Regions from separate parts of the Homo sapiens genome. Here all the other regions are linked to region 1. The links are contacts of gene promoters, found by promoter capture Hi-C in blood cells and fetal thymus (Javierre and others, 2016). All regions are on one chromosome and are shown on one strand. The core of a region is centred on a gene start or on the middle of the fragment in contact, and the rest is flanking DNA. Distances in the headings are between cores, read along the strand shown.

Region 1 (3,444 bases), core at 249-2,748:
ACGCATAGCATTGGCAGTTTCTAAAAGAATTAATTCCCTTCCTGTGTTCATTCTGTGATTACTGGGATAGAAATGCTATTTGCATTACCAGCCTTTCATTCAGTTACAGAGACGTGAGTGCTCGAAGGAGAGACAGTGATTTTTGCCTTAAATTCAGCCTGTCCAAATCGGATAAGATCTCCGATTTGCTTTAAGCCCCGTTATCACTGCCTTCCTCTCCAACAACAGCTGCTGTGATCACGCACAAACGGCCAAACGGGGGCAAATCCGTGCCAAAGCAGGGCCATGGGCTTTCCTGATCAGAAGGCCTAGCCCCAGCCCCCAGGCGCAGCACACGGGCGGCTTCCTTTCAGAAACCCAGCCTGCCTCCCACCAGCTGGAGTGGGTGGGTGGGGCGGTAGTGGTGCCAGTTTCAGGGAACGGCCGGCAAACCCACCTCCAGGCGTGCTCCAGCGGGAGCCTGGAGACCCTAGGAGAGCCCTCCCCACAAGCGGCTTCCAGGCAGGACGCTTCCAGAGGTCTTGGTCCAGGGGTGGGGGTGAGGTGGGGTCTACCTTTGAAACAGCTACAATTTAAACTTCAGCTACACCGAGCTCAAACTCGATTCCGCAGCCGAGTGTCGGCGCCAGAGAAGGATAAAAACTCGGGTCTACGGCTCCCCACCACGCCCCTGGTCCGGTCCTCTGGGCTTCCAGGAGTCCTCACGCCATCCTCTGGGTTGCCCAGGAGGAAGGATGGGCGGGGCGGGCAGGCGCTGCGGGCGCTGCAGATGGGGAGGGCGAGCCCGCGGCACGGCGTGAGCGGGGGAGAGGCGCGCGAGCAGGTGTCGGCTCCGTGACAGGGTCCCCCATCCCGCGCCCCAGTGCTCCCCGAGGCTTAGTGAGGCAAAACCCAGCAAATGCTTCAGAAATGCAGCTCAGTCGGTCACCGGGTTCTGCTTCCTCATCAGACGCGCAAGAGGATGGCGCTTCCAATGCAAATCTCTTGGCTCCGGCCCCTTGGCTGGCAGCCGCCGCGTCCCCCGCCTGCCTGGCGTCCCGCCCACTCCGTGGCGGGCTGAGACGAGGCCCGGCGCGGAGGGGACGGGGCGGAGCGGGCATCCCTCCCCACCCCCCACGTGGGGCTGGCCCTCCGCAGTGCCTGGGCGCGCTGCAGTCGCCGCGCCTCCCCGGCCGCGGCACCGCCTCTCTAGGCAGGGGCGGGGGACGAGGGGCAAGGAGTGGGCGAGGGGTGGGCGAGGGGCGGGGGGCGTCACTCAATCAGGTGGCCTCTGGAGTTCCCCGGGGCAGGGCAGAGGGAACACGCTGCCGGGGATTGTGTACACGCTCCACTGACACCAGCTTCACGCTGCCGGGCAGTCGCCGATCACGCGTGGCCCCGCGAGCCCATTGGCCGGCGCCTCACACACCTTTGCCGTTGATTGGCCGGCCTCAGGCTCCGCCCCCACCCCCGCCCGCGGCGCGGGGCAGGCTGAGCGGCTACCTGAATGGGGAGGGGGCAGACGGCGCTGAGCGCGGCGGCGGCGGGAGCGGCGTCGAGTGTCTCCGTGCGCCCGTCTGTGGCCAAGCAGCCAGCAGCCTAGCAGCCAGTCAGCTTGCCGCCGGCGGCCAAGCAGCCAACCATGCTCAACTTCGGTGCCTCTCTCCAGCAGACTGCGGTAAGTCATTTGGGGATGCCCCTGTGCTTCCTCGCCTGGTCTTGTCTGGGGGGCCAAAGGGGGCGCGAACCCCGAGCCCCGGACATCAGCCATGCCTGAGAATTGGGGCTGCAGCGGAGTCGTGGGGAAGGAAAGGGCTTCCTGCCTGCAGACTATGGGCATTAGTGAGGGCGTGTGTGTTCGGGAGGGGGTCGAACCAGGGGGCTGGGATCTTCAGACAGGGACAGGGGTCTTGCTCTAGATGTACTGAGGGGAAGGGACAACTCCGCATGGAGACCCGAGAGGGCTGGTGAGGAGGAGGATGACGAGCGGGGGAGGAGTGGGGAGGGGGCCGTTGCCCTGCAGCGAGGTTGGGGTACAGTGTGGAACGAGAGTCGCGGGAGGGACAAGGGGGCTACCCTCACCTGGTACCGAGGAGAGATGCCCGGTCTGGCTCAGGAACGCGAGCCAGGGGAGGAAGGGGCTGCTCGCAAGCACTCGGGAGGCGGGGTGTCCACAGGAGAGGCGAGTGGGCTACCCATCCTGGGGGTCTGAACCCACGCTTGGAAGACGGGGGCTGCTCAGCAGATAGCTCGGGGCTGGGGGAAGGGGCGCCTGTCGTCGGAGCGGGGGGATGACACGAGGGCCCGCCGACAGCCCTGGGGGACGAGTTGCTCCCCCAGACGTCTGGAGGGGGACTCTTACCCCAGGGGCAGGTGGCCGCCTTCTGACGACTCCTTGGAAGAGGCGGGGAGCCGCCTCTGGGGCAGGAGGGTGGGAAGCGGGACCCAGCAGCTGGGGCGGGAAGGTGGGCGGGGGGAGCTGGGCCGCGAGACGCGGGGGCCGCGCGTCTGGAGCCGGGGCCTGTGGGGGCTGCACGTCTGGGAACCCGTGGAGACGCGCGGCGGGAGGGGCCTGGAGCTGCCGGAAGCCACGGGGAGGGGGCGCCGCGTCTACAGGGAGAGACGGGGTGGTCTGAGGTCCCGTGGGCCGCGTGGGCGGGAAGTGCCGAGGGCTCGGCCGGGTTCCCGGGGGCTGCCGGCGGGAGGAGGGCGGCGGCCGGGTTTCCGCGGGGACCTGGCTCCTCCTCCCGCATCTGAGGCGGAGGCCGGGGGTGGGCCGGGAGCGGGTGCGCCCGGGGAGCTTCTCGTCCCCGAGTGACCCAGCCCCGGCCTCCGCCAGGGGCGGGAGCGAGGCCCGGCCCCGCTGTCGGTTCCTAAGGGAACGGCGGCTCGCGGGGAGCTGGAAGGGGCGGGCGCCTCCCGGAGCCTGGCGCCCGCAGCCCCGCCCCTCCCCGCGGGCCCGGCGCGCACGGCCGGGCGGTTGGCGGCGGCGCCCGCGGCCCCTCCCCCGGGTCGGGCGCGGGCGGGGGCCCGCAAGCTCAGGAAGTAGGGGAAAGGTGACGGCGCGGCAATTCCCAGTTCACGTTTCCTGCGCCTCCCGGAGCAGCCGCTGATCACGCTTTGTTCACATGCCTCGCCCCCTCCTCGCCCACGCCCCCGCCCCGGGCCGCACAGCCAATCCGGGCTCGGGCCGCCGAGCCGGCCGGCCAATGGCGGGGGCAGGGGCGCGGGGACGTGCGAGCGGCGAGGAATGTTCCCAGTGACTCACCCGTGAGCCTCATTGAGGTTAGGGCGGCCCCATCCGTCGGTCTCCGCCAGCTAGGATCTCCCCCGCCGTCCGCCCCCGCCCCTCGTCTGCCTCCCCCGCCCGCGCCTCCGCCCGCGCTTCCCTTTCCTGCCTCGCGCCCCACTCCCTTTCCTCCCCTCCCTGTTTCCCTTCCTGTCCTTCCCAGCTCACGCTCTCTT
Region 2 (3,444 bases), core at 427-2,926, 350 kb before region 1:
TCTTTTTTTTAATTTTAATTTTAAATTGTTTTAGAGATGGGGTCTCACTCTGTCAGCCAGGCTGGAGTGCACTGGTGCCATCATAGCTCACTGTAGCCTCAAACTCCTGTGCTCATGGGGTCCTCTCCCCTGAGCCACCTGAGGAGCTATAACATGCACCACCACACCCGGCTGATTTTTATTTTTATTTTTTTGGTAGAGATGGAGTCTCACTATGTTGCCCAGGCTGGTCTCAAACTCCTGACCTCAAGCAATCCTCCCACCTTGGCTTCCCAAAATGCTGGAATTACAGGCACAAGCCACCGTGCCCGGACCTTTAAACAACACTTTGTTCCCAGAGCTGCCCTGTGCATCCCAGGACAGTATGGAAGGCAGGCATTATCTTGACTCTCTCCCCAAAATATAGTGACTTATACCTTGTAAGTCATCATAAAAAACCTTCAAGTGTACACCACTAGTAGCTCACATAGCCCTCAGATGATTGTGGAGATTTCTCCAAAATGAAGCTTCCTTTGATTACCTGGAGGAACTCCCCAAAGTGATAACAGGCTTGTTATTTATCCACTATCAGTGGCCACTTGTTGCTGCAGTGGAAGTCATCCCATTAGAAGAAGCAGAACAAAATTTGCCCCTGACTTTAGCTGAAGTGATCAGTGATACCAGCTTTGCCCTTGAAGTATTCGCATTTGCCTCAACTGAGTAGCCAGGTGTGTTATACGTAATACAATTGCTTTAAACTTCTTCCTTGTGGGTCAAGGCGGAGGGGTCTGTACAATTATTAATACATTCTGTCATGCCTACATTAATGTCTTGGACTGAGGGAAAAGGTCAGTACAGAAACTTAAGGAAAGATCCCACTCCCTGACTCTTCTTAAATGAAGCCTTGGTGGCTTCTTGAATTTGTTCAAGGAGTTGATTCTGAGACTCTGACAGGCATATTTGAGGTCAGTGCCACAAATAGCTTCCTCCTGCTTTGTGGATTCTTGTTTATAGTCACCTTAATAAGGCCATATTTGACAAATTAAACAGACTTGGTCCCAGTCTTTGTCAGCTGGGTTAATTGGAGAATGCCAGTGGCATATCTATGGGAAACTTCACCAGAAGCAAGACAGTGTAAAAAGGAGGGTGAGCCACTGTGCCTGGCCAGTTTTCTGTCAATAAACAAAAATTTGGCAATCCAGGAGGAAAGAATAGTCTCTCTCTACAGCTATAAGGTTGCTGGGTACTATAAACTATGAAGAAATCCAATGGAATAAATTGGTGTTAGGGAACAATAAATATGAGAAAATGTTTTCCATTTGTTATCAAAGAGCAACTTGATAATTTTAAGGGATTGTATTCTAAAATAAAGCAAATACCTTCAAACCTGAAAATATTGTTTCATTATTCAGATATAATTCACCTTTTCATCAGTCAATAACTATTTAGGCCCAGAAGGGAAAAGTTGTACAATCCTTTGTACATATGGTTCTTTGATAAGAACTACTAAATACAGGCTGGACGTGGTGGCTCACCTATGTAATCCCAACACTTTGGGAGGCCAAGGCAGGTGGATCACCTGAAGTCAGGAGTTCAAGACCAGCCTGGCCAACACAGTGAAATCTCGTCTCTACTAAAAATACAACAATTAGCTGGGCATGGTAGCGGGCACCAGTAATCCCAGCTACTCAAGAGGCTGAGGTGGGAGAATCACTTGAACCCAGGAGACGGAGGTTGCAGTGAGCCGAGATTGAGCCACTGAACTCCAGCTTGGGCGACAGAGTGAGACTCCATCTCAAAAAAGAAAAAAAAAAAAGAACTATTAAACACTTTTTTTTTTTTTTTTTGAGATAGAGTCTCTCTGTGTCACCCAGGCTGGAGTGCAGTGGCATGATCTCAGCTCACTGCAACCTCCCCCTCCCGGGTTCAAGCGATTCTCCTACTTCAGCCTCCTGAGTAGCTGGGATTACAGGTGCGCACCACCACGCCCAGCTAATTTTTATATTTTTAGTAGAGACGGGGTTTCACCATGTTGGTCAGGCTGGTCTCGAGCTCCTGACCTTGTGATCTGCCCGCCTCAGCCTTCCAAAGTGCTGGGATTACAGGCGTGAGCCACCGCACCCAGCCAAACACTATTTTTTGGATCTTAGCAATCACTTTACAAATATCAGAAGGTAAACTCGTAGGTCTTTAATTTGATGATTTATTAAATGATTTTGGGAGTGGGGAAACAATACCTATTTACCCTAACCACACGCTGCAGCTACCTTCCCTAACACTAATGGAGGTTGTACTGAAATTCTTGTTAAATCTGCAGTCCATGAAAACACTGAATCCAAGTTTTGGAGGTTGTGGCCTGGGTATCTGCATTGTCACAAGACCTCGTGAAATTTGATGAATCATTGCACTAGAACTTCTTGAGCAGTCATTCTTCTGAGCCTCTGTGGCATAGCTGTGTTATTCACTTAGCACCCAAGGTGTAATATTAGTATGTGTTCATTCATTCAGTGAATATTTTTAGGTGCCTACTGTGTGTTTAGAACCTTACTAAACATTCTTTTGTCATTTTTTGGTGTGTCTACCCACAACTAGATTAAAAGCCTCTTTCAAATAGGGATCCTAAGTAAACATGTCTTTGTAGTCCTAGAAACTGATAAGCAATGTACCCTCCACCCAGGGTCCCACCCAGAGTCCAATTCCCTCTTTTTGCTTCCTAACAGAACCACAGTTTTGTTCAGGGACCCATCTGTTTAGCCAAGTATGTTGGAGGAAACTGTCAGGAATGGTTCTAAATGATTGCTTCAGGTATTTGCATGTGACCTAATTCTGGCAGATGAGGCATGAGGGGAAATGTGCTGGAAAGCTTCCATGAAGTTCTCTTGCTCTTAGGAGAGACCTACAGGACGAGGTGGTCTCTCTTTTTCCTCAAAATAGTCATGCTTCTGTTGCGATCTGGAAGTGCTACAGCCATCTTGCTACCTCCCTGAGAATGAAGCTTCCACTGGGGATGGCTTCCACTGGAGAAATGGAAAAAAAAGTGAGTCCTTAATTACCCCCCTCCTTTTTTTTTTTTTTTTTTTGAGACAGGGTCTCGCTCTGTTGCTCAGGCTGGAGTGCAGTGGCATGATCTCAGCTCACTGCAACCTCCTCCCCCAAGACTCAAGTGATCCTCCCACCTCAGCCTCCTGAGTAGCTGGGACTACAGGTGCTCACCACTATGCCCAGTTAATTTGTAAATTTGTTGTAGAGATGAGATCTCACTATATTGCCCAGGCTGGTCTTGAACTCCTGCGCTCAAGTAATCTTCTTGCCTTGGCCTCCCAAAGTGCTAAGATTACAGAAATGAGCCACAGCACCTGGCCAAGACTGTGTTTCTGTATTTGCACCCAACTGAGGGTCAGTAAATATCGGTTCCAGATGATGCTGACAATGATGTGAAAAATAAAATGATAGAATTGCCATCTT
Region 3 (3,444 bases), core at 497-2,996, 320 kb after region 1:
TGTTTTTTAAAGCTTTGGCCGCTATTTCATGTCTCATATTTTTAACAGTTTTCCTTCCCCCTTTGAGGAAGGATTTCTAGTTAAATTTATGACCCATTTATGTTGGACAGTTGCAGATTTACTGATTCAACTTCTTTTTGTTGAAAAATAGAGCTACAAACTACTGCTCTTTAAGGAAACATGCATAGCCACTTTCTCTAGTTGGATTGAGCAGATGTCAGCTTGCTAAGAAGCAGCAATTCGTACTTCATAAAAACAATAAAAACATTGTTTTCTATGACTTATGAAATGAATGAGCTAAAATACTGTCCTTGTGTATGTATTTGATTGTTTTGTATTTACATACAGTAAATTTCTTTAATACAGATAAATCTGAAGCAGGCAAGAAGTAGTAGGTGATTTTTTTGTCCTCTTCCTGTGGGTTCATAGTTGTGCTATTCATCTTCATTTGTCCATAGTGGGTTTTCAGGGCCTGTAGGGGTGTAATTGGCTCATCCAGGCCTTATCACCGTGGGGGACATTGCCCTATCTCTGAAAGATAAAGGCAAGTCAGTTCTGAGAGGGCCTCATGCACCATGCTCTTGCTATTGGGCTGGTTTGTTCAGGATTGTACTGCTCTAGTAAGGCATTTACCCAAAGAAGCTGGAGTTAAGATTCATTTGTTCATTCAACAGTTGGTCAGTGTGTTCCTGCTTTGTGCCATATACCAAGCTGGCATATGGTAATATAGTCATGAGTATGATATTGGCCTTTCTACAAGGAATTCAGTGGGGAACACAAACATTTACATAGAATGTAATGTGATCATAATGTGATCAGTGCTAGGCTGAAAGTATGAGTAAAGTGCTATAGGGGTTCTGAGTGGTAAATGACCAATACCACCTGAGAGATCTGGCAAAGGCATCGCAGAGGAGATAGCATTTAAGCAGCATTTTTAAGGTGAGGTGGGCATTGACCAAGGCACAAAGGTATTCCAAACGTATCTGGGCATGGGCCCAGAGTCACAAAAGGTCATGATGTGTTTGAGGAACCATGAAAAATTCAGAATTGCTGCTTTGTGGTGGGGAGTAGGAGAAGAGATGGGATGGAGATGACTAGACAGTTTGCCAAGCAAGAAGTTAGGATATTGTTTTGCAGCAATTAAGAAGTCAACAGAGTCCGTAGAGAAGTGACTTGATGTGATTGGTGGGGTTTTGCTTTGTTGTATTTGATTTGTTTTAAGGAGGTGAACATTACTGGCATGATGGGAGAAAGCAACAGGAAAAATCAAAAGTCGGTTATGAGAATGCTACAGTTGTTCAAGGAAATTGTGAGGATCTCAACCAAAGCAGGGGTATGGGGAGAGAGAAAGAGAAGAATCTGAGAGGAATTTGAGATCAGTTTAGACATGGGAACCTGGGAGCACGCCTCATCTCTTCCTTTTCTCTCATCAGTCAATTCGATTGTCGTGTCTCCCATTACCAGGTGGGTGGTGATGTCATTCATAGAGATAGGAACTACAGGGAAGGCACAGCTTTGCAGGAGATGGCGGATTCATTTTAGGGATGTCATTGTGCTTTTTAAGACAGCTGTAGGTAAGTCTGGAGATATGAGATTTACACATTTAAAAGCATGATGCTCTGGTAGATGAAGTCACTGAGGCTGAAGGTGAAGCACAATTTGAATACAGGGAGAAACACAGAATCAGTGGCAGGGAGTGCATGGTAGTACCAGGGAGATGGAGGGAAGACCATGCATGGTAGTGCCAGGGAGATGGAAGGTAGGTGGAAGACCAGTAGAGAATGGTGACCTATGAATTAGGGAGAGAAGGATGGGTTCCAGAACAGATAATGAACAGAGGCAAATCATTTGAAGAGTTTAAAGAGAAGATGGACTGATTACGTACATTGAGCATTGATTTGGCAGTTGGAAAAAATGTCATGTCCATCACTGAAAACTGGTAAGGTGAAACATATGCCAGGCAGTAATTCACTTTACCATGTTAGGACTGAAGGAGAGATTTGTTTGGATGGTTGTTGGGGGATATGGGAAGGAGTTGCATCCAGTGTGTCTGTGGGTTATCTTTAAATAGGAGGGGAGGAAAACACTTCTTTCTCTGAGATGGGGAGAAGGGAGGAGGTGAGAATGGTGCTTTCATTAAGCAAATCTAGAGCTAGGAATATTGAGGAAGCCCCTGCCTGAGAGCTATCATTTTCTGGGTGAGTCAGAGATGAAGTCAGGGGAGGAGATTAGTCATAGTCGAATTTGATTGAGTGCTTATTTGCACTGGGCTCTGTGCTGTGTACTTTATCCAGCTGACCCTTGAACTATGAAGGGGTTAGGGGCACCCACTCCTCATGCAGTTGAAAATCCACATAACTTTGACTCCCCCAAAACTTATTATAGCCTCCTGTTCACTGGGAGCCTTAGCAACAACATAAAGTTGATTAACAACATATTTTGTATGTTATATGTAGTATATACTGTATTTATACAATAAAGTAAATTAGAGAAAATGTTATTAAGAAAATCATAAGGAAAAGAACATACATTTAGTATTCATTAAGTGGAAGCGGATTACCATTAAGGTCTTTATTCTCATTATCTTCATGTTGAATAGGCTGAGGAGGGGAAGGAAGAATTAGAAGAGGAGGAGTTGCTTTTGCTGTCTCAAGGATGGCAGAGGCTGAAGAGAACTATAAGCAGACCCTAACAGTTCAAACCCATATTGTTCAAGGGTCAGCTATATATGTTACTCCGTTTGGTTTTTACCCTGCACTCCCCTCTCCCTTACCATGATTTGCATTACCTTAATACCCATTTTAGAAATGAAGAAATGGTTTCAGAGAAATTGTATAGTTTACCTGAAGTCACATACTTAATAAGTGTTGGATCTAGGTTGGGGACTCACTTAGTCTGATTCCATTATAGTTAATTCTTAACCGTAGGATTGAGAAGAGAATATGAAGTAGAAAGGTAAAATTTGATGCAGTTTCTATGGAGAAAGTCAGTAATGGTTTGTAGACATCCATGGTAAAGGTAAGGGAAGAATTGCTAACTTGGAGAATTCCAAATTTGGTCTCTTTTCCATCCCCCAATAAAAGTGACTTGAAAATAGGAAAATAGGTTTGACTGGTACAGGTAAAATAGACGATTAAAATTAGTATTATTTCTGTACAACACTAAGGCATAACCTGTTGTTATTGTGTTATATTAATAAATCTTGTAGACTTTACAAGTTTTAGCACTATAACGTTACCATCTGACCAAATAAAATTGAATTTTGACAGAAAAACCAGAAAGACACCATTTGTTTATCATACCCTGGAGCCAGAATCCCAAAGAAAATGGAGAAGTACTGTGTATAGACCAACAGCATTTTTGCAACCTAAAATCCGTTACTGGCAATTTTTGCTGTGAGATTTCTAGGTAGCTTTGTGGCTCTGATCATTTGTTTTATGTTAA
Region 4 (3,444 bases), core at 299-2,798, 310 kb before region 1:
TGTAGTCCAAGCTACTCAGGAGGCTGAAATGGGAGGATCGCTTGAGCTCAGGAAGTTATGGCTGCAGTGAGCCATGATCGTGCCATTGCATTCTAGCCTGGGCGACAAAGCAAGATGCTGTCTCAAAAAAAAGAAAGAAAGAAAAAGTAAAAAATGTCTTCTTTTTCAATACCTATTTTTCACAGCTTGGGCTGCCACAAGGCGTCCTGTCCTCCCCTTTGCCTGGAAACACAGCTCACCACCGTCCACCTGAAGCGCAGGATAGTATTAGGAGGGTTTTCACAATCACACACTCTTAAGGAAGTGAAGAACTTCCAAGTTGAGAACAAGTTCCAGGTACTTTCATTACCTGGAGGAGTCTCCTCTTTGCTCAGAAGTTCTTGGACTCTATGAAACTTCCTGCTCAACATCATTAGCTGTTTCCTCTGAGTTTGGCATTCCTCTTGACTCCCCCAAATTGACATAATTCTCTTCCCTAGTTACTACCTGAAGTCTGAGATTCCTAGCATTAAATACTTTGGTTAGCCCTACAAACAGGAAGTATATGGTCCTGGGGGTGGGTAACTGAGAGAAAGTCAACCTGTCTCCTTAGGAGCCTCTCAGGAGACTCATCTGGCCTTATTTCCATCCCACCTCCTTCCCTGACCTGCTCAACTGGACAGACTGCCTGAGTCTTAGCTCAAGGCCACTTGCCATAGGTCAATAATAAATCATTTCTATTCCTTTCTGCATTTTAAAGAAAATGTTTTAACAGTCATACTTTAATGTCAAGAGCACAATTTTGAAAACTGCGTAAAGATGACAGTTTCAGAGGCAGATTTGGGTTGAGCTAAGTGATTTTCAGCTTCTGCTCTAGCAAATTATCCGAAGGCTGCTTCTTCTGAAATTCACTCTTCATCACTGCTAGGACTTGATCAGGTCAGCTTGCCACAATTGGCCAGGTTTATTATTTATTGGCTAGAGGTAAAATATTCAAATGATTATCTAGTACATGTGACTATTTGCTATCAACCTCGGTTTCCAGTAGTGGAGGAAAGGATGAATAAAATGGGTGGATTGCATACTATGGAGTCTTGTGCAGTGATAAAAACAACAAATGAAATGCATGCACGGCAATAATTTTAGTTCTTTAAAATATAGTACTGAGAAAAAATAGCAAAAAACAACATTTATAGCACATACACTAACACAATACACTTTATAAGACAAAGGCATATTTAAGAAAATATATGAAAATGTGAAAGTAGTAACTTATGGTCAGGGGTAGGGGTTAGGGGTAAAATAAAATAAAATAAGAGAAACCTTCCCAAAAATGTGATGATAAGGTAGCATGAACTGAGTAGTATGATTAACTCTTTTGAAGTCTCAAAAACTGCACAAATAAGCCTGGACAACATGGTTAAAATTGTCTCTACAAAAAATACAAAAATTAGCCAGGCGTGGTGGCATGTCTCTAGTCCCAGCTACTCGGGAGGCTGAGGTGGGAGGATCACCTGAGCCTGCAAAGTCAAGGCTTCAGTGAGCCGTGATGGCACCACCACACTCCAGCCTGAGTGACAGAGCGAGACCTTGTCTCAAAAAAAAAAATCATAAATTAGTGCTTCCCAGCAGTGTTCCAGTCATAGAGCATGAACATTCTGAAAGATGCTAACGCGTGTTACCAAAAAGCAGATTCCATGATCCTGTACATTAGGGAAACTTAGGTTAAACAAAGTTAAACAAGTTTCTTCACTTCAGATCTCCTCAGAGTCTGTAACAGTCTAATTTATGATGGGTATACACAGTATTTCCCAAACTTCTTTGGCCTTGGAACTATTTTTGGCAAATGCTGTTTTGCAAAACACAGATTGGGAAATGCTGCCCTCACCGTTTACCCCAGTTACTTTCTTCTCTCAAGACAGCCTCAGTACTCCATTCCACCTGTCCTCCAGGTCTCCTCTCTTCCAGGAAACCCCCTCTGCAGCCCATAATCATCTCTATTCTCATCTTATTGCTGCAACTCTTTGGCCAATAAGCAGTAAGATCAGAGTATTTTACTGTTGCTGCAGAAATGTATTAGTGCAGCAGGAGGTTCAGAATACAGCAGACATACTCTACTGTTGCTTCTGTATCTGCTATTGCTTTCTTAAGGATGAGGGCGACACAGTTTTTTATCTCTACCTTAACTTTTGGTGATGTTGACTTGAATAAATTACATGGAAGGACCTTTCAGCCAATCATTTCACAGCATCTATTCAAATCAGGTTAAATTAATACTGTCTGAGGTGAGGGTGAAAGAGTCATATTTACAAAGCATCCCAAACAACAGAAAACAGCTTTTTTCATAATGTTTTGATGCTTTAATACATTTAAGGAAAAGTGAGAAGGTGAAACAAGGACAATTATACGCTTCCCAAAACAGCTTTAAGTCAGTTGAATGGTTTCTTAGCTTTGCCTAGCCCTGCTCTACACCAGGATTCAATGATGATGATGATGATGAACAACAAGGAGGGTGAGGGAGATGAAGGAGAAGAACAACAAGGAGGAGGCAACTACCTTTATAAATTCCAGGCCAGGCGCAGTGGCTCACACCTGTAATACCAGCACTTTGGGAGGCTGAGGCAGGTGGATCACCTGAGGCCAGGAGTTCAAGACAAGCCTGGCCAACATGGTGAAACCCCGTCTCTACTAAAAATACAAAAATTAGCCAGGCATGGTGGTGCATGCCTGTAGTCCCATCTACTCAGGAGGCTGAAGCAGGAGAATCACTTGAACCCGGGAGGCGGAGGCTGCAGTGAGCCAAGATTGTGCCACTGCACTTCAGCCTGGGTGACAGAGGGAGATTCCGCCTCAAAAATAAATAAATAAATAAATACGTAAATTCCAGATTTCAGGACCAGTACTATGTTAAGTACCTCACCTACTTCATAGGTTTAAAAGAGTGGCCACCTAGTCCGGGCATCATAGCAAGACCTCATCTCTACTAAAAGTAAAAAAAAAATCAGCTAGATGCCGTGGCGCATGCCTGTCATTCCAGCTACTTGGTAGCTGATGTGGAAGGATCGCTTGAGGCTGGGAGATCAAGCCTGCAGTGAGCCGTGATCACGCCACTGCATACCAGCCTAGGTGACAGAGCGAGACCCTGTCTCAAAAAAAGGAAAAAAAAACGTGGTCACTGAAAAGCCCCTTTTACCAACATGTCTTTCTCCCATGGCTTTCAGAGACCTAAAATTTCCATCTTTATACATCTGTTCCTACAGCCCCTTTAACATCTGTAAAAACTCCAGAAGTATTATACTGGTAATACCCTTGTATGAATGGATTTGTTGTAGATTTTTTTTAAAATCACCTATCAGAAGACCTTGGGAAAATATTTAGCATTGCTCATGGTGTAAGGGGTACTCTCTGGGAGGCTAGAGACAGATGAAACAAAGCAATGCAGCTTTTCCTCCTAGTTCCTGCTTA
Region 5 (3,444 bases), core at 277-2,776, 290 kb after region 1:
GAACCGGAGATGACTAAAAGAGTTCTTCCTCACATAGATGAGAACTTGAGACCTAGTGGACTTTTAGTGAGTCCAGGTAGTAGTAGATGAGCTGGGAGTAAACCCCGGATTTCTTGCTATTCGGTGGCATTGTTTCCAGTACAAATTGATGTGCATTTCAGACATGTATTTCAGATGTGGTTAGGGGTCTCACCAGGACTTTTAAGATTAGAAAATTTAATTGATAGCAGTAACCATTTGTGCTATCTCCCCAGATAGCCTGAAATTCGCTGTTGAGTTCTTGAGTTTAAATATTTTTTAGCATTCTCATATCCTCGAAGCTTACTTTAGTTTTACAAATAATTGTCTGGAATATTTGGAGACGTGGAAACAACATTTAATTCTTAATCTCAGGCATTGTCCGGTTTTGAAAAAGGCCTTGACAATTATTTTTCTCTCCCAATGCTATATATTTTGCGAGAGCTCTGGAGACAAGTTTTGAGCTACTAACAAAGGAATGGAAATGAATGAGTTTAGTTGCATGCCAGTGAACAAGTTATCTTCTGAAAGTGTCACTACTGTGGTTACTCATAGTAAATGTGGACCCGGGGAAGTGAGAGCTCCTGCTGCTTCTTGGGGTCTTCTAAAGGCTGCTGTTACTCTGCAGAGCAGACCCACCCTTGTTTATCTTCTCCCTATTTTCTAGTCAGCCTTCTCTTAGAGCTCATGGGTTCCACAATACATTACCCTTAAGGTGTTTTATCTTGGAACACAGAAGTGTGCTTTGTAAATGGGCAAACTGGAATTCTTTGAAAAAGCTTAACTTTCTTGAACTAATGAAAACATGTTTTGTTAATGGAAGTAAATGCAAAACTGGGCTACAAAAATGAAAATGTATTTTTCTGGGGGCCAAATCACAAATGATCAGATGCTGTTCTTTAGGAGTGAGAATAAGGTCACCAGTAAGTATCTACTTCTTCAGAGAGAAATAAAATATGGCCGCATTTGAAAGTTACTTCAGGCTGGGCGTCATGGCTCACGCCTGTAATCCCAGCGCTTTGGGAGGCCAAGGCAAGTGGATCTATTGAGGTCAGGAGTTTGAGACCAGCCTGGCCCAAATGGCGAAACCCCATCTATACTGAATTACAAAAATTAGCCGGGTGTGGTGGCGGGTACCTGTAATTCCAGCTACTCGGGAGGCTGAGGCACGAGAATCACTTGAACCCAGGAGATGGAGGTTGTAGTGAGCCGAGATCGCACCATTGCACTCCAGCTGGGGCAACAGATCGAGACTCAAAAAAAAAAAAAAGTTATTTCAGTTACTGAATGCAATTCAATATTAGACAGTTACTGTACGCCTTTGAAAGATGCTGTTCACTAGGATGATAGAACTTATAGGATAAAGTTATAGAACAGCTGACTCCTAATTGAATCTCTTACTGAAATAATTAGGTTATTTTCTCTTACTGAAATAATTAAGTTAGATTATATATGCTTTGTGGCAGTTTTTAAGCCCTAAACTGGCTTTAACGTCATTTATTTTTGGAGTATGTATAACATTTTTGTCTGTTAGTACAAATGATTGAAATTTGATTTTATTCATTTTTGTGACTCTTTAGAGAGCAGAATTCATGGACTTTTCTATTGATTTAATGTTCTGATTTTTCCCATTGCTTTCTAAAATTCTCAGTTTACTTTTACAAGAATTATTTCTGGAAAACGGTTTTAAAAGATCAGATCAGGCAGTGTTTTTTTTGATAACTTAATAGAATTGCTTAAAATCTCTGCATTTGATTATATCTTTACATTGTAAAATGACTTTCTTAGGTTGACAAAATACCTAGTTTAATTTAGCTATTATAGTGTTTTACATTCAAGACTGTTTTCTTAAGAGAAACAACAAAATCATAACAGAAAATACAAGTTAATATCTCTTTGTTATGTAGCCCTTTGGGGTTTTTCTAAATCTGTTCAGTACTGTTTTAAATGCTGTTAGAAATGGGAGGTGTTATCCTTACTTTATATAGATAAGGACATTGATGATCTGGTTTGTTCAATTTTGTGCTATAAGACCGTTCAAGAACTTGAGATGATACCTTAAGTCAATTAGGCTTTCTGTTTTCATTTCATGATATCCATGTGCACTCAAGAATCTCTTGACATGGATAACACAGTTTTTTGTTTTGTTTTGTTTTTTTAAACAATTGAGCCTTTGGTTGGGCATTGGTTCAGCTACCAACTTTATGCTACCTTTTCTATAAACTCTAGAAGCTTCAGTTTTCTCACCTGGGATTAATGGGAAAATGGGATTAATACGATTATCATTGTTACTGAGGTTGCAAATGGGGTGGTGAGGGAACGGAATTGCAGAGTCTGCTTGTGATCTTTTCGGGACAAAAATGAAAATATGAAAAACATTCTTACCATAGCAGTTGTTTTGTGTACTACTATTGGAAATTACCAAAATAATGGTACAAGTACCTGTCAGAAGTATTTGTTTACAAAAGATCTGTACACGTGGTTTGTTAATGTTTTGTTTTAAAGGTTACGAGAAGTTTCTGAGAAGCTGAACAAATATAATTTAAACAGGTAAGAGTTTTAAAATATTTAAATCTTCTGACAACAATTTTTCTTTATTAAGAAAAAACTCATTTAGGCGGCAGCCTGATATGATTAAGATTAATGTGATTATTAGACTTTAAGAATCTTTTAATCTGTCAACTTTTTATGGGTTGGGCTTATTTGAATTATAGATTGCATTCATGCTTTTTTTTTTTTAAATCTGGCATACAGGGAGATATAAATGATTATGGAGATATTATTTTTCAATTATTGCTTTAAAGTAAATATTAGTTTAAAAAATAGGTTTTGCCAACTTTTTTTTTCTAATTGTATTTAAGAGTAAACCCTATGATGTATTTACCATTAAAAAATAATTTAACTTTTTCTTTTTTTATCTCTCAGCCACCCCCCTTTGAATGTATTGGAACAGGCTACTATTAAACAGTGTGTGGTGGGACCAAATCATGCTGCCTTTCTTCTTGAGGTAAATTATTCACTCTAAGATACAGAAATGAAAAATAAACTGTTAAAATAGAATTGTGCATCATTGTATCTCTTCCATTATAACAGGAAAACAGCAGTTACTTGAAAGTTATCTTGAAGAGCTCCCAGTTCTCTTTCCTCCTCTGGCCCAGAGAAAGCTTACATGATTTGCCAGAGTGTGAAACTAATTAGTAACAGAATAGGGGAGTCTCCTAAATCCAGTCATTTTCTTACTTTGAATTTTGTCAGATTGAGATGTTGTAAATTATTTTCGACTGGTTTCTTGATAATGTTATGTATGTCATATTTCCCCATCTCAGGTGTAAGCACCTTTTGGAAGGAAGTTTATTTATCGTCTTCTGAATTGACAGTGATGGGCACAGAATCTCTTTGTTGAATAAATTCAAATTTTAATACACA
Region 6 (3,444 bases), core at 651-3,150, 260 kb after region 1:
GAGGCAGGAGAATCGCTTGAACCGGGGAGTCGGAGGTTGCAGTGAGCCGAGATCGCGCCACTGCAGTCCAGTCTGGTGACAGAGCGAGACTCTGTCTCAAGAAAAAAAAAAATATATATATATATGTGTGTGTGTGTGTGTGTATATATATATATATGTGTGTGTGTGTGTGTATATATATATGTGTGTATATATATATATTTGAATTTAGATATATCTGTTAAGTTTTGTAATAAAATTTTATCTATCTTTGGAAAGTTTGTTTTATGATATTGACACTAATTATCAAGCAATTCCTGCAGAATTTGAAGAGTGATACTGTGTATCCGAAAGATACTGTGTACCTACCACAGACAGGCCCTATGGAAGACAGCTCTGAGAACTGGAAAGACTGTAGAGTTGGAGTTAGGAGGCTTGGTCATTCCACTAAACAGTCACATAGTCATTTTCATGCAGTGAGTTTCATTTTACTCATTTGTAAGATGAGGAGGTGTATTTAATGTCTGAAAGTTCATTTCAGCCTTGAATCTGTGTGACTGTAGAGCTATAGATACTGTTTTATGAGTTACATTTGATATATGTTGGCCAGTTCTGCCATTTTAAGGTTTGATTCTTATTTCCTGCCTCAGACCTGCTCTTCTGCTTTTTTTGTACTTACTCTAATAGGTATTTAGGAGTAGTGGGCAGAAAATAGAGCTTTCTAAGCTCTTGCCGTCTGGTTAGTTTAACTGAAGAGGAGCTCTTAAAAAACATGCCCAGGTCTTCTGTATTGCTCCCCCACCCCTTCCCCCTTTATTTGATTTTATTTTTGACATGGAGTCTCACTCTGTCACTCAGGCAGGAGTGCAGCTTTATCAAGTATATGATAAAGCAAAAGCACATTGATGATGGCATATCACCTTCTGAGTTTGAAAATGTTTGTTTACCTTTGATTTCTAATGGATTAAGAGTGTTGCTCTTGTTTTTTGGAAATGCTGTTTATTAGGTCCTAGTACTGCCACATGCTCAATGAGAAACTTTTTAACTTCTGTTTTCCAGGAAACCCATTGTTCTGTGTATTAGACTGTAATAGATATTACCTTGTGACTTGACACTGCTGAATAGAATGTTTTGAGATGTTTCATCAAAACTTTACACCAAGGACGATTTTAGGATTTTATTTTATAGCTGAGGAAACTGAGGGCCGGAGTGCTTAGATTAGTTAAGTGGCAAAGACTCCACCCTACATTAACTTAGCCTTATTGCTTTTCCTTTGAAAAGGGTAGAGGAAGTTACTTGTTTTTCTATGTGTGTGTGTATGTAATTATATATTAATGTGAACACACACTGTTTGTGTGTATGTATGTTTGTGTATATATGTAATTATAAATATGAATACACTGTGTTTGTGTATATGTAAACAGGTACGTGTGTGTGTGTGTATATATATAAATAGATATATGTGAAATCATTAAAAGAGTGTTTATTCAGCAAGATTTGGGGGCGTCTGCTGCCTGTCAGTTCTAGTCTTGGGTGTCTGGTGGTGGTGTTTGGTTCATGAAAAAGAGACAGTTACAGGACAGTGTGACAAGTACAGTGAAAAGGGAAAGTTCAGGATTCTTCACTAGAAGCACCAGTTCAGTCTTGGGCAGGGGAAAAGCTTACCTGAAGAAGTGTTGAAAATGAGAATAGGGATTGTGAATGAAAAGGAGGTAGGCTGAGAGAGGCTGGTGGGAGAGCTGTAGGATGTAGGACGTAGGACAAGGTGTTAAGAACTGGAAGAGCTCCCTAGGCAGAAGGAACAGCACATGTGGAGACCGTGAGAGACTGCTGTGTATTTGAGGAACTAAAAGAAGCCCAGAATGCTTAGACTGATGAATACATAGAGTTTCAAATCAGTTGAATAATGTTCTTGTAGAAAAGGATACCTTGTTAATTATCTTCAATAATGACTTTGGTCATATCATGATCAAGTAAATAAGATGTGCTAGGCCATAAATTGGCCATAACTGGTTAATGTAGTTGGTTAGGCTTAGAGTAATGGAACCAATGCACTAAGGAGTGTGAATTCCATTTTCCATGTAGGCAAGTTGCTTGATTTTGTGGCTACAAAGAATGTACTTCACCTCTCTCCAGCCAAGTTGTTGGTGTTTGCCATTGTTAATGAGGATGATCAAGCTTGAATGGATGATTCAGTTCAAATGCCTCACTGTTATTGGGAAAAAACTGCAGATCTTTTGGAGAAACCAGTAGAATCACGGAGCTGAATAAAAGACAATGTGTTTTTCTATCTAAGAGGTGAAAAAGTCTATGATATTAACTGTGGTAAAGACTAAAGTTTCATAAGTGCTAAAACAAAATGACGGTATACTTGCCTCTGGGTTATGGTTGATTACTTTTGATATTTCTTGATATGATTTTGTATTTTATATACTTCTGTATATGAGTATATATTATTTTAATAATAGAAAAAGAATAAATTCTGGCCGGATGCGGTGGCTCGCGCCTGTAACCCCAGCACTTTGGGAGGCCAAGGCGGACAGATGATGAGGTCAGGAGTTAAGAGACCAGCCTGACCAAAATGGTGAAACCCTGTCTCTACTAAAAATACAAAAATTAGCTGGGCGTGGTGGTGTGCGAATGTAATCCCAGCTACTCAGGAAGCTGAGGCAGGAGAATGGCTTGAACCCGGGAGGCAGAGGTTGCAGTGAGCCGACTGTGCCACTGCACTCCAGCCTGGGCGAGGGCGAGAGTCCGTCTCAAGAAAAAGAAAAAGAATAAATTTCTAGGAAAGTGTTTTAGCTTATTTAACTATTCACCTAAAATAAGAACGTGAAAATCATTGAATAAAGAATAGTAATTTAGTTTCACCTAAAATATTTTTTCCTCTAGAAACTTTTTATTGTTATTTTTTAAGACAGAGTCTTGCTCTGTTGCCCAGGCTGGAGTGCAGTGGCAGGATCTTGGCTCACTGCAACCACCGTCTCCCTGGTTCAAGCAATTCTTGTGCCTCAGCCTCCAGAGCAGCTGGGACTCCAGGCGTGTGCCACCATGCTCGGCTAATTTTTGTGTTTTTAGTAGAGATGGAGTTTCACCATGCTGGCCAGGCTGGTCTCGAACTCCTGGCCTCAAGTGATCCGCCTTCCTCAGCCTCTCAAAGTGCTGGGATTACAGGCATGAGCCACCATGCCTGGCTCTAGAAACTTCTTAAAAGAAACTTTGCTCTGTCCCCCTGACTGGGGTGCAGTGGCGTGATCTCAGCTCATTGCAACCTCCACCTCCCAGGTTCAAGCGATTCTCCTGCCTCAGCCTCCTGAGTAGCTGGGACTACTGGCGTGTGCTACCATGCGTGGCTAATTTTTTGTATTTTTAGTAGAGACGGGGTTTCACCATGTTGGCCACGCTGGTCTCGAACTCTTGACCTCGTGATCCGCCCATCTTGGCCTCCCAAAGTGCTGGGATTAC

The links. The method cuts DNA at HindIII sites, captures the fragments that hold promoters and counts their contacts. A CHiCAGO score of 5 or more calls a contact.
Region 2: a fragment that was not itself captured here is called in contact with the fragment with the promoter of KLF10 in region 1 in 1 of 17 cell types (neutrophils); the score reaches 5.4 in neutrophils.
Region 3: a contact is called between a fragment that was not itself captured here and the fragment with the promoter of KLF10 in region 1, in 1 of 17 cell types (M2 macrophages). The highest score is 5.8, in M2 macrophages.
Region 4: a fragment that was not itself captured here is called in contact with the fragment with the promoter of KLF10 in region 1 in 1 of 17 cell types (neutrophils); the score reaches 6.7 in neutrophils.
Region 5: a contact is called between a fragment that was not itself captured here and the fragment with the promoter of KLF10 in region 1, in 2 of 17 cell types (M0 macrophages and monocytes). The highest score is 5.7, in M0 macrophages.
Region 6: a contact is called between a fragment that was not itself captured here and the fragment with the promoter of KLF10 in region 1, in 1 of 17 cell types (M2 macrophages). The highest score is 6.1, in M2 macrophages.

Annotation. Positions count from the first base shown.
Region 1 is chr8:102,653,779-102,657,222 of GRCh38, reverse strand. It overlaps KLF10 (KLF transcription factor 10), which reads left to right and starts at 1,498. Exons shown (of 4, transcript NM_005655.4): 1 at 1,498-1,657. The coding sequence starts at 1,622. LOC101927245 (a long non-coding RNA gene) reads right to left here and starts at 975. Exons shown (of 5, transcript NR_160672.1): 1 at 437-975. RefSeq lists enhancers at 1-267, 868-1,468, 2,762-3,386, 3,387-3,444, silencers at 609-1,628, 2,529-3,438 and a promoter at 908-1,642. The HindIII fragment of the contact is 6,240 bases long and covers 1-3,444 here.
Region 2 is chr8:103,007,023-103,010,466 of GRCh38, reverse strand. No RefSeq gene overlaps it. Among named protein-coding and RNA genes, the nearest start is that of ATP6V1C1, 12 kb to the left of the region's middle. The HindIII fragment of the contact is 2,336 bases long and covers 509-2,844 here.
Region 3 is chr8:102,330,130-102,333,573 of GRCh38, reverse strand. The region is part of intron 9 of UBR5 (ubiquitin protein ligase E3 component n-recognin 5); the gene reads left to right. Among named protein-coding and RNA genes, the nearest start is that of UBR5, 81 kb to the left of the region's middle. The HindIII fragment of the contact is 3,464 bases long and covers 15-3,444 here.
Region 4 is chr8:102,964,402-102,967,845 of GRCh38, reverse strand. The region is part of intron 2 of MAILR (macrophage interferon regulatory lncRNA); the gene reads right to left. Among named protein-coding and RNA genes, the nearest start is that of ATP6V1C1, 55 kb to the left of the region's middle. The HindIII fragment of the contact is 4,294 bases long and covers 1-3,444 here.
Region 5 is chr8:102,360,706-102,364,149 of GRCh38, reverse strand. It overlaps UBR5 (ubiquitin protein ligase E3 component n-recognin 5), which reads left to right. Exons shown (of 59, transcript NM_015902.6): 2 at 2,524-2,568; 3 at 2,944-3,025. Among named protein-coding and RNA genes, the nearest start is that of UBR5, 50 kb to the left of the region's middle. The HindIII fragment of the contact is 1,453 bases long and covers 800-2,252 here.
Region 6 is chr8:102,393,379-102,396,822 of GRCh38, reverse strand. The region is part of intron 1 of UBR5 (ubiquitin protein ligase E3 component n-recognin 5); the gene reads left to right. Among named protein-coding and RNA genes, the nearest start is that of UBR5, 18 kb to the left of the region's middle. RefSeq lists an enhancer at 1,697-1,776. The HindIII fragment of the contact is 518 bases long and covers 1,642-2,159 here.